Linked DNA regions of Homo sapiens: region 1 is linked to region 2. The links are contacts of gene promoters, found by promoter capture Hi-C in blood cells and fetal thymus (Javierre and others, 2016). All regions are on one chromosome and are shown on one strand. The core of a region is centred on a gene start or on the middle of the fragment in contact, and the rest is flanking DNA. Distances in the headings are between cores, read along the strand shown.

Evidence for each region. Contacts are between HindIII fragments. The CHiCAGO score rates a contact against its expected background, and 5 or more counts as called.
Region 1: a contact is called between the fragment with the promoter of ANGPTL5 here and the fragment with the promoter of MMP20 in region 2, in 1 of 17 cell types (activated CD4 T cells). The highest score is 5.3, in activated CD4 T cells.

What each region holds. Positions count from the first base shown.
Region 1 is chr11:101,915,272-101,921,430 of GRCh38, reverse strand. It overlaps ANGPTL5 (angiopoietin like 5), which reads left to right and starts at 4,909. Exons shown (of 9, transcript NM_178127.5): 1 at 4,909-5,412. CEP126 (centrosomal protein 126) reads right to left here. Exons shown (of 11, transcript NM_020802.4): 1 at 6,019-6,159. The coding sequence starts at 6,146. The HindIII fragment of the contact is 9,032 bases long and covers 292-6,159 here.
Region 2 is chr11:102,620,667-102,627,056 of GRCh38, reverse strand. MMP20 (matrix metallopeptidase 20) reads left to right here and starts at 1,725. Exons shown (of 10, transcript NM_004771.4): 1 at 1,725-1,863. The coding sequence starts at 1,738. The HindIII fragment of the contact is 723 bases long and covers 1,536-2,258 here.

The DNA.
Region 1 (6,159 bases), core at 3,660-6,159, 710 kb after region 2:
TTGGCCTCATTACACAGATATTTGAGTACTTACTAACAAGTTGCCCTCATAGTCATGAATATAAGAAAATGAAATAAGAAGATTGTATTTTACTAATAGAAAGTAGATGGAGTAAATGTTTCACCAGATCCCTTAATCTATAGTAGGAAAGTACATTTTCAAATATTAAACAATCAAATAGCAATATAACTAGAATGGTTAGGAATACAGTTTAGTTATTTACTTAGTGACTTAGTGGTTATAAAAAACCACTAGGAAAACTATGTATAGTCATCTGTGTATCCAGAAGCTTGTCAGAGAAAAAGAGGAATATTTTGGTTATCCTAATCATCTATTCACTTGAAATTTATTTTATAAAATTAAACTCTCCTTAAATAAGTTGTAGCAATATGAGTAATTTCTCCAATTTATTTAGTTGCGTTTTAATTGACATTATTAAGTATCTTTATCAAATTTGTCAGAGTAATTTTCTGTTTTTCATGAGTCTTCTGTTTTTAATGATTTTGAATTAAAAGAAGTTCATTTGGCTGGGCGCAGTGGCTCACACCTGTAATCCCAACAATTTGGGAGGCCAAGGTGGGCAGACTGCTTGAGCCCAGGAGTTTGAGATGAGCCTGGGCAATATGGTGAAACCCCGGCTCTACAAAAAATGCAAAAATCAGCCAGGTGTGGTGGTGTATGCCTGCAGCCCCAGCTACTTGGGAGGCTGATGTGGGAAGATCGCTTGAGCTTGGAGGGGGTTGAGTCTGCAGTGAGCTAAGAACACGCCACTATACTCCAGCCTGGGCAACACAGCGAGACTCTGTCTCAAAAAAAAAAAAAAAAGTTCATTGAATTACCGTGTAATCACATTTAGTACCTCATCATTAGATGTAGAAATATATGAGATTATACTGAAGTTATAGATTGTAGGGCATATCTATTTGTCTTTTTTAGAACAAACAGCTTGTTTAAAAACTTTTTACGCTAAGATGGAGGTCCAAAATTCTCTTTAAAGGCTGCATTTAATCAAGATTGTAAAAATCTCATAAATTGATTATTAATGGTAAAACAGAATACTAGAAATACACTCAATAATAAACTATGCGGTACATAATTTGTTAATTCAACATGTTAATTTCAGGATCCTATAGTGCTTCAGCATCAATATTATAAAGAAACTCTATTATTACATATTTCAGAATAACAGGTTTATTTGAACATTTTGTTGTTTAGACCTTTGCTGATGGGGGCTTATTTGTTTTCTTTTGTGTTGCTATTTAACCATCTTTATACCATAGGCCATAATTCATTTTACCTTCATTTTAAATAAAATTTTACACTACTTCAAGACAAAGACCCAAACACACTCACAAACATATTTTTACTTAAAGATTTCTTTTAAAGGATTTATAAAAATCAAACCAAAAGGGAAGAAAATTTGGTTCTTTGCTAGCACAGAAAAACTGTTTTTCTCTGATAGAATATTTTAACAAGAGCCAGACTTCAACAAGATGTCTAGGTATTAAAAGTGACAACTCGGCAGTAAAGAAAAGTGCAACTTCCTTTCAGGGTGCACAGGGCCAACATGAGGTTGAGGGGAGGAAGATGCTTTGGCTTAAGTGAGAAGCAAGGAGGAGACAGTTCTGTTCTCTGTTTGACATGTTTGAAGTCTCATCACGACAGCATAAAGAAAATCACAAATGTAATGTTTGTAATGTTCTGACAACTATATAGTCTTCAATTTAACCAAATGATTTTCTACTTTCTTTATATATAAGTATAATAGTATAGTATGTTTCCTGCTGAATTATTAATTATTAATATAAAGAATCCTGCTGCTTTTGTATCATTTCAAATATGGTATTCAAGTTTAAAAAAATTAGATGGCTGGTTAAATTTTGTTTTTTTATACAAGCTGTATGGTAAAGGTAGGAGTTCCATAAAAAAAACACTGCTAAATACCTGTCCAAAAGAAGGGAATTTTTATATACTTAACATTAAAAAAACAAAACCAAGAATAATATGTATTGTAACATGTGATTTTAAAGCATAGCTTATTCTACCCCACTCTATCCTCACTTCTCCTCTCCCAACTTAGTCTTTTATCCAGTTAGGTTGTTTAAAATGTTGCCATCACAAATAACTATGTATTATATAACCCATTTTTTCCCCAAATCTATTAAAGCTATGTTGATTCGATTTTTCCTCTACTGTACCTTCTTCCTCTCCCTTAACTCAGGTACTCTAAATCCCTTGCTTGGACGACTACAGTGCTCCTCTAATTCTTCTTACTCTAAACCTCTATTTGAACCTACACAAAGTCAGCTAAATGCAAATCTGATTGTGTTTCTCTTTGTTGTTCTCCAAAAGCTCCCTATCACCTTCATGAAAAATTCCAAAGTTCTTGGACCTATATATAAACCATTCTATAATATAGTTTGTTTTTTCAACTTTATTTCTTAACATTTCCCTGTATGAATCCTATGTCCAGACGCACTAAGATAATTATAAACAGAACAACCCGTGATGTATCATACCATTATCTCTTGGCACATGCTTGGCTAACTCTACTCATCCTTTCAGGGCCATCTCAAGCAGTTCGTTCTACCTTGAAGCCTTTTCTAACCTCCACTAGATGACTTGATGACACCTTCATGAGTACATGATAAGTGTCTTCTCTACATTTCTGTAACTCTCACGCCTGGCATGGTTCTTAGAATATAGTAATGATTTAATAAAAACCTCCTGAATTATTCCCTTGGAGAAAATTCTCTGGGGTAGATATGAGGACAAAAGGCATATGCATTTTTATATCTTTTAGTGCATTATAGAAAACTTGGCTCCTAAGGGGGTTATACAAAAGTATATGCCATTAGAAATGTATTATGTACCTAAGTTTCAAAATCTCATGAGCATGGGGCAGTACCTTTTAGAAACACAAGGTACAAAACTATGTTTTATTATGTATGTATTAGCAAAATACAATTTATTTATTTATTTATAGACAGGGTCTCACTCTGTTGCCTAGGCTGGAGTGCAGTGGCATAATCTCGGCTCACTGCAACCTCCACCTCGCAGTCTCAAGCAATCTTCCTGCCTCAGCCTCTTAAGTAGATGGTACTACAAGCATGCACCACAACACACAGCTAATTTTTGTATTTTTTGTAGAGATATGGTTTCACCACGTTGCCCAGGCTGGTTTCGAACTCCTGGACTCAAGCAATCTGCCTACCTCGGCCTCCCAAAGTGCTAGGATTACAGATGTGAGCCACTGGGCCCAGCTGAATGGGTTCACTTCACTTTCTATAGTAAAAGTAAGATCCCATCAGTGAGCCTGGGGGGAAAAAAAGACAGGTGGGTGGGAGTGTGTGTGTTTGTGCTGTTTGTTGGAACAGACCTGTCAGGGCATCCAAGTCTTATCAAGTGGTAAGACAGTCTATCGAGTGTGATGGAAGGTGACAGAGACCTGGCAGAGGCATTCATAGGAAAAAGAAAGAACCCTGTTCCTGTTTAGGTGAAGCTGGAAACCATCAATCTTTAGTGGTACAATCTGTATTGTTTTGTGATTTTTCTTTGACAGCATTTTTATTATTCGCATGAAGGAGTAAAGGAGCAGGACTATAGTAGTTATTGAGTGGCTGAGGCAGAATGATTGGGGTACAAATAGCCAAAGATGTTGGTGAGAGAAAGTTCAAATAGTTAAGAATAGGGTATAAACTGGAGAGGAAAGGAGAGGCAAGGTGGGTGCTAGGATAAAATGGGAGGGTTGAAGGGTAGAGATATTTATGAGGAAAAAAAGGCAGGTATAAGGGGACATGAGAGACCTTCCTTTTTTTTTTTTTTTTAAATTCCATTTCTATTTGAACTCTCAAAAGAGAAAAAGAGATTGAAATGACAGAACTTTAGCTAATTTTAATTAAATAAACTTCATAAGGTTTTGTTGTTTTATAACCTTTAGAGTCAGAAAATTCTGACTCCAGTGAGAAAATGTCTTCAACAGAAAGCCAGATGGCCTCTGAGTATCATGTTCATATTTGAAATTGAAATGTAAATGTTACCACATACTTGCTTATTTTAAGGCTGTGGTCCTTTCATTTGCTTTCTTTCCTTTTTTTCATTTAGTCATGTAAATTTGAGCACCTACTCTGTGCTAGGTATCCAATGGGAAACATTATAGACACAAAGAACATTCCAATTAAACTTATATAAAAGGTACTTTAGTGTTTTTCCAGCTAGCAAACATAATGTTCTTGATTTAGTGTTATAATCTTTATTATGTTCAAAAATAATTCCTCTGTTCCAATTTAAATATATATTATCTAAACATATATATACACACATATGCAAACTAGCAAAAATATATATAAACCAGCACACACACACACACACACACACACACACACACACACACACACACACATTGTTGGATTTTATCAAAGTCTATTGGTCATCTATTAAAATGTTCATTTATAACTTGCCTAATTTTAACTATATATTTAGCCTTTAAGGATCTTTTTTAGTGTTGTATTTCTTTATAGGAAATGTCATTCTAATTCTGGAATAGAGTCTATTTGGTTGTGTTCATTCAAAGTATTGCTGGATTCTATTTATGAATATTTTCTTTGGCATTTGTATCAAAAATTTATACCACATAAAATTTAAAAAATGAGGCCTACAACCATTTTATTAATGAAAATAACAGAAAATACACTCTCAATGAGCCATTTACAATACTTCCCTATTTTCTGATTTAGAGATAAATCAGGGTCGTGTAATAGCAGTTGTGTCCAAGAAAATATAATGTCAAGAGGCCAGAATTAAATCCATACAGAAAATGATTGTGTTCATTTCAGAGTAACCTTTAAGAGGGCAATTTTGGGGAGCAGCAAGGGCAAAAGCCAAACTGAATGGGGTTAATAATGAATAGATGAGAGGAACTAGAAGCAGCTATTGCAAGCTACCATTTTGAGAACCTGCCCAAAGAAAGAAAAGACTGAAGGGATGGAAGATTGCAGAAAGCATGATCGGAGAAGAGATATTTTACTTTTAGTGAAGCTCTATACACATTTGTCTTCCTCACTAGATTTGTATCCCTAGAACCTAGAACAGAGTCAGCCAAAGAGCAGGCACTCAATACAAATTGTTGACTTGCTGCTAAAATTGTAACAGAGTACAAAGAACATCCTAGAAATTGGAGACAAAGGGGATAAGAAAACAGAGTTAACTTGGAAAGAGAAGACACTCATCTCTGACAAGACTGAAGATGATTACACAACACCATCATTGCCAACCAAGTCCTTTGGGAATACAAAGGTTAAATCCTAATCATCACAACAGTCTCTAAAGGAATAAACCTGATTTACAGATTTTGATAACAAAATACTTCTCCTCTTTCCATTTTCTACAATGCAACCAACAGCAACATCAAAGGTAGGCTTAACCAACTCTTCGAGAAAAGTCAGAGTTAATCCAGATTGTAAAGCGTCCAGGTCCCCTGTTTCTCATTTCCTCTTTTCTGTCGCTCTGACAACAGACTGGGCAGAGATGGAAAACAAAACAACTTACCAAACTGTGTAGCCTTTAGCAGCTCTGGTAAATGCATTTAGGGCTGTGTTAGGATAACTGTTAAAACGGACTCTTTAGGATAGCAAAACATTTTACTTATTTGTGTAATTTCTCTCTCCAAGTAGTACGATAAATCAGGAAGTAGTTAATATGTAAGTAAAGAACATAATGGCATAAAAATATCCCCACAGAATACACAGTTGATGTGTTTTAAAATTCACAAAAATTTTACAAAGTTGAAGAATGGGAGTAGGATAACAGGGTGATGGGGGGAAGCAGCCACAGAATTAGATAAAATGGTATAATTTCAGGTCTAAGGTGAGACACGACAGTTGCTAAAGGAAATATCTGCACTAAGATGACTTGCTAGTTTTGATCACCCTGCGTCAAAGGTAATGGGAATCTAATTGGAAAAAGATGGGCCCCGTTTTCAACATCGCTACCCTGGCAGCCACAGGCTGGGAAGGATACAGGTAAGAGCCAGGTCGGTGATGCCCGCCGCTCTCCCGAGGGCCGAGGGGGGCTCTGTCGAGGTTGTCCGATGATTCAGTGCCCAGTTCCCCGACCGCGCTCCGGGTTCCGGGCCTCCCCGCCAGCATCCTTCACTTCAGC
Region 2 (6,390 bases), core at 476-2,975:
GATTAGTATATGTTTGTACATTCATTCATTCTTTTTTTTTAACAAACTTGATTAAGTAACATTTTTTAGAATACAGTCTTCAAACAGCTTACAATTTAGTTGAATGAATCTAATCTGTGGTTTTCTTTTTTCTTCTTCTGAGACACATGTTTTGTCTATCTCACAGTACATGCCAGAAATTCTGTTTGCCTGTGTGTATTAGTCCATTCTCACACTGCTATAAAGGAATACCCGAGACTGGGTAATTTATAAAGGAAAGAGGCTTAGTTGACTCACAGTTTTACATGGCTGGGGAGGCCTCAGGAAACTTAGAATCATGGTGCAAGGCAAAGGGGAAGCAGGCACCTTCTTGACAAGGCAGCAGGAGAGAGAAGATCAATGGAGGAACTTTCAAACACCTATAAAACCATCATATCTTGTGAGAACTCACTCATTGTCATGAGAACAGCATGACGGAACCACCCCCATGATCCAATCCCCTCCCTCCCTCAACACATGGGGATTACAATTCGAGATGAGATTTGGTTAGGGACACAGAGCCAAACCATATTAATGTGTGACAAACTCTTGTTCAGTGCCTGGGGTTGTACACTAGATACCAAACATTGGCTGTAACTCCACCATCTTCTCTTCCATGCAAAGAAAGCATATCAAAATGCAACAGAGTGAGAAAGACTATAGGAATTCACTGTATTCACTATAGGAATAACCTTGAATTTAGTCTAAAATCAAAATTAGGATTTGAATCCACATCTAGTGGATGCCAAGTGGTGCTTGCAGATGTCATGCTATATGTGTTACTCCATAACACTGAAAAGTTTATACATAGTAGTAGTATTGTCAGTCTTTTGTAGATTAAAAAAAACTTGATATTCAGAGATTAAATGACATACCCAACATCACACAGCTAGGAAATATCTTTTTAAATATTTAGTCTTGCTTTGTCTGACTCTAAGTGCTTTTCCCACCATATGACACCATTTCACCGTATCATCTCTGGATCCAAATCCATCTTAATCAGACCCAGGAAAAACAATATGACTCCAATTAACCAGAGTACACAGAGATTGGGGAGTTCTGGCTATTGTTTTGGTTAACGAAGACGTAACTCTTGCCTTAATTCATCCAAAAGCTTTCTAACAGTTACCAGTTCACTTTCCACCCTAAGTCAGCACAGTATAATGTAATCTTGCCTTGATGATTCAGGATCTTATGTGTCTCAGAGCCATCATTATGAACAGCAGTTGCTACTAAGAAATTTTGAAGTGAATGCAGGAGATACAGGCGATTGGGTTGAATGCATGGGGAGTTTGGGATTACTTGGAGGACAAATTCAATTATACTGTAATCATCTAACTTTTCTGTAATCAGAATGGAAAAAGGCCCCCAAATGAAGACTAATCAAATGTTTCAGTTGAGTTGGGTTCAAATCAATCAAGTTTACTTCAATTTTTGTAACTAGCTGACCAACTTCATTAAAAGTGACTGTTTTTCTCCTTTTGCCACTTGGTAAATAACAAAAAAAATATGAAGCTTTCCCTGATTCCTGTGTACAGTTGTGTTACCCCATCATCAGGGAGAGAAATGAGCTGTATAATTACTGTTTGAGACATGAATCATCCTTGCTCGGAGGGTCCAGACCTGTTTGACTCTATAAAAGGAGCTCAAGGTCGAAGTGCAAACGTGCACTGTCTGCCATCCCCCAGGCTGATATAATTACCAAGCTACTGTGAGGGGATGAAGGTGCTCCCTGCATCTGGCCTTGCTGTCTTCCTCATCATGGCTTTGAAGTTTTCCACTGCAGCCCCCTCCCTAGTTGCAGCCTCCCCCAGGACCTGGAGGAACAACTACCGCCTCGCACAGGTTTGTGAATTTTTGCCCAATTCCTTCTTGCTCCTCTGCCCTAGAAAACCTAAAAGGGCATAGTGAGAAAATAAGAAAAAAATTCTATTGTTCTTTTAAAATCATTTTATATAAGTCCATTGAAGTCTAACTGATGCTATCTTCTGTCCACCTAGATTGGTGTCTGGTGCATATTAGGTGTACCATGTTACATGACTGAATAAATACATGAGGATATATCTACCTAGCTATCTTGCTTCATAAAGAATTCCAGGTGGCTTGTGAAAACCATGCAATATAAAAGGAGCAAACAAGTACTTCCCGGGAATGATGTAGGAGGAAAAATAGAAGCAGAAAAATAAAAACCGAGGCATAATCCACACGCTAGAGGCAGGTTGTGAATTTAGTGCTAAGCTTTAGCGGTCACAACAAGGAGATTTCCTGTGTTTCCACTTTTTAAATGGCTCTTATATTCAAGGTAACCCTGATCAAAATTTAAAGTGGACTAAGTTCTTCCTGGGTGCCAACCCACTTCTCATTTGAAGGCCTTTTCTCCCTAAAGCATATTCCCCAATGAAGTAAAAGTTTATGTACAAAGTACATAACAAAGTTTATGTAGTAAGTACAAAGTACAACGTTTATGTACTTAAACTTTGTGTATTTTCCTCTTTTGAGATCTCTCCTCTATGACTGCTGGAAAGGGTCTGATAGAAATGATCCATATTCAAATATTTCACAAAGACTGCTTGACTCAAAATGATTTCTACATATATATATATATATATATATATATATATATATATATATATATATGCTTCCAAGCGTGTTTTGTTTTTAAAAGAAGGGTGGCATCCTTAACCTAAAGAAATGGATGTCTACGGATGGAATTTCCAACATTAGTGAAAGATATATAGAGGAAATGCTTTTGCACACAGGCCTCCCTTTCAAGAGTCTGCCAACATTACAGCACATCTGTGATCACCAGCTCCGCCTCAGGGCTGCTTTCCTGACTGCCAGGCTGCACCTGTGTACCGCTTGGCTGTCTGCATCGTAGAGCTGATTTGCACCCATGTGCAATGGCATGTCCCTACCGATTGTTTCTGCCACTCATCCTTATTAACTGGTCAGTTCCCCGGCCATACCAGTCATTAAACACTTAAATATCAGCCCCGCAGATGAACAGCACAGCTGATGCCCAGCACAACCATGTTGAACTGAACTTCTTTTGACTTTAGCCCACTTTTAGATGAACTAAATTCAAAATAACTCAGGATACTGGGATCCTTATTCAATTGTATTTTGTCCATGCCACCTAGCTTTAGGTGCCTTCTTCCCAAATGTAATTTTCCCTACCCTGCCTCATGCCACTGTGATTCTGAAACTAAAGAGGTTTTGTGACCTCCAGAAGGAGAGCCATGCTGAGGCCAGAATGGATCTGAGGTGTTGGGAGACCCCCCTTCTAATCCACAGTTCAGGAAAACTACAGTTGGCCCTGCCCCTTAGTTTACAGATTGTCTATGATTGCTTTTGTGCCACAATGGCAGAGGTTAGCCTAGAAGCAAAGAATATTAATTATTGGTCCTTTGCAGAAAAAATTAGTCACCCCTGACCAGTCTATTAAGGAATAAGGCTAGACCAGCCAAGCACCAGTTTCATAGAAGACAGTTTTTCATGGACGTGGGAAGTAGGAGGCTGGAGGGGTGATGGTTTTGGGACGAAACTGTTCCACCTCAGATCATCAGGCATAAGATTCTCAAAAGAGCATGCAACCTAGGTCCCTCACACATGCAGTTCACAATAGGGTTCTGCTCCTATGCGAATCTGATGACTCTGCTGATCTGACAGGAGGCAGAGCTCAGGAAGTAATGCTGGCCCGCCACTCACCTCCTGCTGTGGGGCCAGGTTCCTAACAGGCCACAGACTGGTTTCCGGGTGCAGCCCAGGATCAGGGGACCCCTGGGCTAGACACTCTTGGGTGGAGTCACTCTTGCTATTCTAGCTGGTCAGGAGTCAGCTAGGCACGTTTAGAAACAGTAGCATGGCCTGGGAATATTGGGGACCTTTAGTGATTCCTTACTTCTTCCTCTCCAAAATAAATCAACCCTTCTCTGTCTCCCTTATGACATACTCTCAGAAAGACCTTAGACCAAGGAGCAGGGAAACTTGTCCACATCTCCTCACCTGACACACAGCACCTTTGCTTGCAATGGCCCTGGTCCTCAGCTCTGGGCAGGGACACTCAGGAGCCTGGAATGATCTGGCTGAACCTCTAATGAGGATCACAATGACAGGAAACAATTATTTAATAACATCCCACCTTATAATTTATAGAAACATTATATAACAACCTCATCAGCCTCATAAAATCACAAACAAAAGCAGTAAAATAGGCAGCATAAGTTCATGTATTGAATGCTTACAGCATGGCATATGCTGGAGAAATATGAGAGAATCAAACAAATCAAGCCCCTGTTCTTATGCTCCTTCCATGAGGATGAGGGAGCTGGTGGGAAGGTGCTGGGAGAAGATAAACAAGTCAACCAATGAGTGCACAAGATGTTTCAGAAAGTGATCAGTGAGCCTGGAAAGAAGTTAATCAGGATGACAGAGTGTTGCTGACTGGGACAGTGGTCTGGTGAGGGAGTATTTTTAATGGCGTAGTCCAGGAAGTCCTCTCGGAGGAAGTGAACTTTGAGATGAACCTGAGCTGCATGAAAGAGCCAGTCACGTGAAGACCTGGAGATGGGGCAGTCCAGACGGAGGAAACAGCAGCTGCTTGGAATGCAATCATCAGGCCCATGTGACTAGAGCTCAGAGGTCAGGAAAGAGGGTCCCAGAGGAGTCCCAAGGACAGGTGAGGCCAGCAGGTCCTCTGGTGCCTGGTGGCCTGGGTCACGCTAAGCAGAGAGAGTGCTTAGGGATGCTCTCTTCTTGCTAAGTGATCTGTTAGGTCACTCGCTAAGAAAGAACAAATGGCTCCTGGAAACACCAGAGAGGCCACGTTTCCAAACACCATACACCTCTCCCTCCCCTAAAAAATCTACACTTGAAAAGATAAACAGCTTCTTGATTTATTTAATGTCCACTTGTGTCCTTTAAATTCTGATTTGCTAATTTGCCTAAATGCTTTGAAAATGGTAAGATGGCAAAATGCTTACCTATTCTCATAATCCAGGATTTTATTCTGGGTTTGTTTGTTTGTTAAACAAAATTAGTGTCAATATGACATTTAAAACATACTTTTTAAATTATGCTTAAAAATAAAAATTTTAACTACCACATTATTATGAACTCATAACTAAGGAAAATGAAAATACACACTGTTAATTCAGGTGTTTTTACTACCATTTTATTTTCTATGATAAAGACTTTTTAAAATTGTTACTGTCTTCAAAATGTGGTTTTTACTTTTCTAACTATTATGTCATAAGAAAATTTTGGTTTTATACTATTTTCATAACATCACTTTAAACAGTCAGAAATATTCCAGAATATGAGTTATAATTTATTTGACCATTTCCTTTAACAAATAGATTACTTCCATATGAATAAGGCTTCTATAAGCATCTTTGTACATCAAGCTAATTTAAACAATTATTTTTTCAGGATAGGTTTCCAGACATGGACTTAATGAGTAAAAGGGCATTTGAAAGTATTTTGTCACATTTAAAAGCATTCATATTGAGGACCTCATTGGATCCTCACACTCACGTAGCCAGTAGGGCAGAAACCACTCTATAGATGAGAAAACTGAAACCACAAGAAATTAAAAGAATTGCCCAAGCGTGTTAGTGACACAGCCTGGACTAGAACCTAGGATTTTTCAGACAGCTTTAAAAGTTCTCACAAATCTATTTGTGTGACTGTAAGGAACATGGCTGTGCTGCAGCCAAGCGGGCATAGGCCAAGGTAAACATCCTGCGTGACTCAGCGAGTTTAGGGTGCAGGCGTACATTTCCACTTGTTATCACAGCCATGTAGCCATAACATGGGAAGGCCATCACTTAGCTCTAAGCCACTATTGTCTGTAAAAGGTATAATTGCCCTGCTGACATTGTACAGGAGTCCTCTCACCCAGAGAAATAGAGAGAGAGCCAAAGGTATCCATCTTGCAGGCGGGTAGGAGGGAGCCAGGAACCGGCTTGTGCCCAGAGAGAGAAAGAGTTAAGCTGCTGACCCTGAAGGGTGGGCCAGCCACGCAGATGTGTGTGGGAGCAGCCGGCTCAAGCAGCCGAAACAGGGCGGACAGTGTGAGAAAGCTGCTGATGAGAGAGCTGCTGAATAAAACCATATTCATCTGCCTATGCCCTCACCCCCTCCCTGAGGATTCTTTCAGCTATCTGCCACCCACCCATTCCCCTCAGACCTCAGCATGGGCTGGAACCTGACACTGAGAATGACATTTAGTGTAGTCGTGGCCCCAAACCTGATCCTGGAACCTGACAGTGACTTTGCCAAAAAAGAAAAATGTTGAGGAAATGTACCTTAAGTTTCACCCTGTCCTGGAGCGTACTTAAACTGAGTTTTAAACTCTTAAGTCTCAGGAAG